Linked DNA regions of Homo sapiens: region 2 is linked to region 1. Evidence: promoter capture Hi-C in human tissues and cell types (Jung and others, 2019). All regions are on one chromosome and are shown on one strand. Each heading gives the region's core, a stretch centred on a gene start or on the middle of the fragment in contact. The rest is flanking DNA. Distances are from core to core; before and after follow the strand shown.

Region 1 (3,078 bases), core at 556-3,055:
CCCAAGAGGTTTGACTGTAGTGCCTGCCGCTAGGGCCACGTGGAGCTCTCTCTACCACCATCTGCTGGGGGCTGGCTGTCTCTTCCCACAGAGGCTGCTCCCTTCCTGTCCAGCTCACAGCTCATTGCCCATGGGGCCTGGAGCCCAGTGGCACCACCAGCCTGTGATAAACTGGAACACTCGAAGGCCTGCCTGGCTATTGGGCACTACCGGTGGGATTTCAGGAGGGCTGGCAGGGCTGTGGCCAGCCAGGCAGGGCATGGCTGAGATGGGCTCCCCAGAGTCCCCAAGGCATCCATATGGCCGCTCCCAGGGCAAGGCCTCGCTCTGGGAGAGGAGGGGCGGGGGGCTGGGAGGACTGTTGCTGCCGCTTTGTTTTGCCTGAGACCTGCTCCCTCCCCCTTCCTCCACCTAATCTCATCACCTGCCTCTTCCCTTTGCCCAGGGTTGACCTCATCTCCATTAATCCATACCGTGTGTGTGTGTGTGTGTGTGTGTGTGTGTGTGTGTGTGTGTGTGTGTGTACAGGTGCACTTCCAAACAACTCCCTCTAGGGGCTGACCCCGCAGCACTAGAAGCAGGGTATGTGCCAGCAGACCAAGCCTGTGTGGCAGGGGCTTCCCAGCGCTCCAGAATAGGGGAGACACCAGCAGAGGTGCAAGAAACAGCCCCGGACAGGAAGCGGTAGAGAGACCCAGAAAGGCAGGGTGGGTGTGCACTGGCCTCCAGGTCCTGAAGGCCTACTCTGGAGTGGGAGTATACCCAGCTGGGTGGGGCCTGACCTACACCCCTTGTGTGCCAGGGGAATGTATCTTGCAAGCTGTTTTGCTGCACCCAAGGATGATCTTCTCCACTCAGGCCCAGGTCCCTAAGTCCCCTCCTAACAGCCACAAGTCATACTCTCTAGCGCCTTGCCTGCCCCATCTCAGGAAAGGTGACCTGAGAGGCCCAAGCTTATTCCTGCCCTCCCTGAGCCATGCTTCCTGCCCAACTTCCTAAGGCTTCGGTGACAGACGGCAATCTCCTTGCCTGGGCTGCACAGGCACACTGCCCTCTCCCCCTTGGGGTTGCATGGTCTGCAAGTGCACACACCTGTATCTCGCCCTCTCAGGGGAAAGATTTACCAGGCCCTCTCCGGCTGCATCCACTGGGTCTCTGGCTACAGGCAGAGAGCCAGTCAGCAGTGCCCCTGCAGCTGTTTGGGGCTGGGGGCTCCGATGATGCCAGAGCCCTAGGGTTTACAGGCACCTAGGCAGATTCGAGGATCCAAGTCCCTGCCACATGCGTTTGGGTGAGACCGACCTCACTGCCTCAGTTTCCTCCTATACACTGATGCTATCAACAAAAATACCCACTTCAGGAGGTGGTTGTAAAGATTATACAAGAGACTGCAGAGCGTTAGGCAGCACCTGGCACAAGACAAATGCTCAGTAAAAGACCACTGCTGTCATTAAGGTCAACACCAGCCCTGAGCTCCTGCCCTGGAGCTGACCCAGCGCTCACGCCCAGGATCAGAAAGGGAGGGCTGGGGCTGATGAGCTGGGAGGTGGTGTGCGCCCTTCTCCTGCCTCCAGCTCCTCTCTGGACCCCTGTCCTGGCACCTCTTCGGTCCCTGGTTCGGTCTGCCCCTTTCCCACCGCGGCCCGTCTTAGGCCAGGATGTGCTCCCTGCCCTGCGGACTCTGGAGCAGGGCCCGGCCACTCCCCGGAGCCTGTATGACGGGAACCGCCCCGCGCCCTCTCCCCTACGCGGGGCAGGCCAGCCCTGGGGCGCCTTAAAAACCGGAGCTGGCGCTTGGCATCGCCACTCTGGGCAGGATCCAACGTCGCTCCAGCTGCTCTTGACGACTCCACAGATACCCCGAAGCCATGGCAAGCAAGGGCTTGCAGGACCTGAAGCAACAGGTGGAGGGGACCGCCCAGGAAGCCGGTGAGGATAGCGCGCGACCTAGGGCTCAGGCAGGGGCACCTGCGTGGATGCGCAGGCAGAAGCAGCGGGTCGGCGCGGTCCGCAAGTTCCTGGACCGGCAGCTTGGCTCGGAAGGCTCGGTCCTCCACTGAGACGCAGGGGGCAGGCAGAACGCCCACCCCGGCGAGCAGACAGATGGTGCCCGCAGGGAGGCAGCGGAACAGAGGCTCCGGAGGAGCCGGAGCTGCGCTGCGGGCACTGCGGGAGCCCCTCCAAGGAGGCCATGCTGGCGCTGGGCGGCCCGCCCAGGCCCTCAGGAGAGGGTGAAGGTCCAGGACAGGGATCGGGCGCGGCCCGCCACCACTTAAACCCGCGCGCGCCACCAGAGGCTGCCCCAGACCTCAAAGGGCTTTGTTTCCATCCCACCCCCATCGCCGAAAAGTAATCGTCGCCTTACCTTTAAGTCCCCACCTGGCAAAGAAGGTCCTTAGTTCCTCCACCTCCAGCTCTCTCCTCCGTATTCTGGAGGTGACCCAGCTGCGGTGGGGGCGTGGGAGATGTCAGGAGACCACTGGGTTGGTTCTTCCTGCACCTAGCCCAGGCTTCGTTAGGACTCCAGCTCCCTGTCAGTCCTGCCCATATCCCAGTCAGGAGACAATATCCAAACCAACCCCTTACTTCACCAGTGCTCCAGGGGAGGCCCACAGTTCTTCCCTTGAGACTGAAATGCTACCAAGGAAGCCTCCGTGTCAGGTCCCTTCCTTCTGGGCTTCACTTTTCCATCTGAGAGCTGGGTGCAAAGGATGGGCTGCTTTCTGATGGGTTAATCGAGACGAGGTTCCCAGGGGCCTCTCAGCACACTTGCCTGACTAACCCTTTCCGGAGGATGGGATCTGGGTAAGGCAGGCCCTTTCCTGTTCAGCAGCAGGGATGAGTTACAGCTCTGTAGGCGGGAGCCACCTGTCAGCCCCCCCGGGGCTGGTGACTCCATTCCCAGCAGGCCGAAACTCTGGTCCAGAGGAGATAGTCCGGCCTTGGAAGTTTTGCCTCCTTCCTTCATTTGTCTCCTAATGTCTTAAGCTGCCTGTCCACAGAGGCACTGGCTTTGCTTGTGTGCCCCTCCGGGCAGGCCACAGGAGGGAGGAGGCAGTAAGGACCTGGCAAAACTGC
Region 2 (3,220 bases), core at 13-2,512, 180 kb after region 1:
AAACCTGCTGATACAGTTCATCCTGTTTTAGAAATCTTTGACCCATTCATCAGACTCTGACCACTCTAAAGATAAAGGATTATGGTTGTATTGGTTTTTCCGACTGAAGCGGCTTTCTGCAGATTGAGAAATTGTATAATTATTAACTGCGGTAATGGAGATGTACTTGCAAGTTTCATCTGGTATCTTAATGAGCTTTAACCCTCTGAATACACCTAAAACATATCCTAGAATTATTGAAATTAATCAGTTGTCCATAACTTTTCTGTCTGTATAATTTGGCTATCATACATATTTTGTTTCCCCCTGCCCTTGCCAGTTTCCATCCTCCTACTCACATACTCACAACTCCTATAAATTGGAGTATTTAGTAGCAGTAGCCTTTGGTATAAACACTTTTTAAAAATTTACTATTTTTTGATTTAATAGGGCCACTTTCTAGTCAAATTTTTTTTGGGGGTGGTGAGGAGGGTAGGGTAACAGTTCCACACTTACAAGGGTATTTGTTTAGACGAAGCTTGTTCAACCCACAGCCTGTGGGGCTGCATGTGGTCCAGGACGGCTTTAAATGCAACCCAACATGAGTTTGTAAACTTTCTTAAAACATTATGAGTTCTTTTTGAGATTTTTTTTCGAGACAGAGTCTCGCTCTGTTGTCCAGGCTGGAGTGCAGTGGCCCGATCTTGGCTCACTGCAACCTCCACCTCCTGGGTTCAAGCGATTCTCCTGCCTCAGCCTCTGGTGTAGCTGGGATTACAGGTGTGTGCCATCACTCCAAGCTAATTTTTGTATTTTTAGTAGAGACGGGGTTTTACCATGTTGGGCAGGCTGGTCTCAAACTCCTGACCTCAAGTGATCTGCCCACCTTGGCCTCCCAAAGTGCTGGGATTATAAGCTTGAGCCACCGCGCCCAGCCTGCGATTTTTTTTTTTTTAAGCTCATTAGCTATCATTAGTGTTAACTGTATTTTATGTGTGGCCCAAGACAATTCTCCTTCTTCCATTGTGGCCCAGGGAAGCCAAAAGATTAGACACCCCTGATTTAGACAAATAAGTGAAGGCACACTGAAATAACAATTATATATAATAACCTTGTGCCGCCCAGCGTGGTGGCTCATGCCTCTAATCTCAGCACTTTGGGAGGCCGAAGCAGGCGGATCAGCTGAGGTTGGGAGTTCGAGACCAGCCTGACTTACATGGAGAAACCCCATCTCTACTAAAAATACAAAATTAGCTGGGCATGGTGGTGCATGCCTGTAATCTCAGCTACTTGGGAGGCTGAGGCAGGAGAATCGCTTAAACCCAGGAGGCAGAGGTTGCAGTGAGCTGAGATCGTGCCATTGCACTCCAGCCTGGGTGACAAAAGCGAGACTCTGTCTCAAAAAAAAAAAAAAAGAAAAAAAAAAAAAAAACAAAAAAACCTTGTGTTTTATGGATCTCACATTCATCTCAGATATTTCTTGCCCTGAGAGATCCTCTGAATTCTCAGGATTGCTTCATGTTGATTCTACTGTGATCCTATCAAATATAGTAATGCTAGAAATATAGGTCTGAAGTTTGGGAGAGAGATTGGCTCAGTATAGATATGTAAAGCACAGTTGGATATGTGGTAGTTATATGAATGGGATTGGATGAAATTCTCTAGAGGTGTGTGGAATGGAAAGAGGTGGCCCAAGGAGGAAGAGAGAGAGAGAGAAATTGGAGAGGTAGAACAATTTAGGAAAGAGTAATGTTCTAGAAACTAAGGAGAGAGTTTCACAACTGCAGTGGTGAAGCACTGTGAGTTCTTATTTGGCAATTTGGACTTCATTATTGTCTTATCACAGATAGGAAATGAAAGGTTGCAGAACATTTAGGAGAAAATATTAAGTGAGGACACAGAAGCGGTAAATGTCGTATACACCTTTTAAACATTTTGGAGATTACCCATAGTAGGCCTGTCCCTTGGGTAAGGCAATTAGGGCAGCTTTCCTGGGCCCTATTTTGGGGTGGGGAATGACTCGGGGACTTTATTATATGACTTTTTTTCTGAACATTAATAAAATTCAGTTCCAAAATTTTGTGATTAACTGTAGTCCTAAGAGCCTACGAAAAATGCAGATAATGGGCAGTTCCACATTGGTTGAACTGCCCCAGGCTTCTCTCTTCTAGAGTTGCTGTCCCTTCCTTTTAATCCTGTAGTAGCTCCTATCACTTTTTTTTTTTTTTTGAGACAGAGTCACCCAGACTGGAGTGCAGTGGTGTGATCTCAGCTCACTGTAACTTCTGCCTCCTGGGTTCAAGCGATTCTCATGCCTCAGCCTCCTGAGTAGCTGGGATTACAGGTGCGTGCCACCACACCTGGCTAATTTTCGTATTTTTACAGGATTTTACCATGTTGCCTAGGCTAGTCTTGAACTCCTGACCTCAGGTGATCCACTTGCCTCAGCCTCCCGAAGTTCTGGGATTACAGGCGTGAGCCAAGGCTCCTGGCCTCCTGTCACTTTTTATAATTGTCAGTTTGTTTTTCCTCTCAGAAATTAAGCTCCTTAAAGCTCTCTATTATTGTTTTGAATTCCCAGGGCCTAGCATAATGCCCAGCACGTAATGTTGAATGTTTGTTACGTAAGTGATTGAAGGAATAATCCAATACATATCTGTCTTAAGTACAAAAGAATTCCAATATGGTGGTCTCACAGAGTCAAAAAAGCGGAATGTTTCAGAAAAGAGGGATTGATAAACAGTTTCAAATGGTAGTAAAAGTATTGAAAACTGACCTTTGGATTTGGCTTCTAGAAGGTCATTGGTTTCCATAGTGAAAACTTTTATAGCAAAATGGTTGGAGTAGAAGTGGTTGAAGATTAAAGGAGAAATGAGATGTAAGAAACAACAAACAAGTTTGTGGGGGGGCGGGGGTTGGTTTTATTTTTAAAGATTTGTAGCTGAGCGTGACAGTATGTATCTGTAGTCCCAGCTATTTGGGAGGCTGTGGCTGGATGATAGCTTGAGCCCAGCAGCTTGAGGCTGCAGTGAGCCATGATTGCACCATTGCACTCCAGCCTGGGTGACAGAGAGAGACCCTAACTCAAAAAATAAAATAAAATAAAGATTTGAAACTAAAGGGAAGAAACCATTGGAGAAGAAAGCCAAAGATCTGACGGAGGAGAATTCATTATCATGGTAATGTTATGCATTTGATTTGCATATATCTAAGTATTCCCACCAACTTTTTTTTTTTTTTT

Evidence for each region. The method cuts DNA at HindIII sites, captures the fragments that hold promoters and counts their contacts. A contact is called where the count stands out against the background at its distance.
Region 2: a fragment that was not itself captured here is called in contact with the fragment with the promoter of ADIRF in region 1 in 2 of the 25 tissues and cell types used here (aorta and heart right ventricle).

What each region holds. Positions count from the first base shown.
Region 1 is chr10:86,966,677-86,969,754 of GRCh38, forward strand. ADIRF (adipogenesis regulatory factor) reads left to right here and starts at 1,806. Exons shown (of 3, transcript NM_006829.3): 1 at 1,806-1,929. The coding sequence starts at 1,869. ADIRF-AS1 (ADIRF antisense RNA 1) reads right to left here. Exons shown (of 2, transcript NR_170185.1): 1 at 2,366-3,078. RefSeq lists enhancers at 1-492, 333-512, 493-1,245, 2,752-3,078 and a silencer at 2,616-2,910. The HindIII fragment of the contact is 7,922 bases long and covers 1-2,783 here.
Region 2 is chr10:87,145,678-87,148,897 of GRCh38, forward strand. All of the region lies in intron 2 of SHLD2 (shieldin complex subunit 2), which reads left to right. Among named protein-coding and RNA genes, the nearest start is that of SHLD2, 52 kb to the left of the region's middle. The HindIII fragment of the contact is 4,468 bases long and covers 1-3,220 here.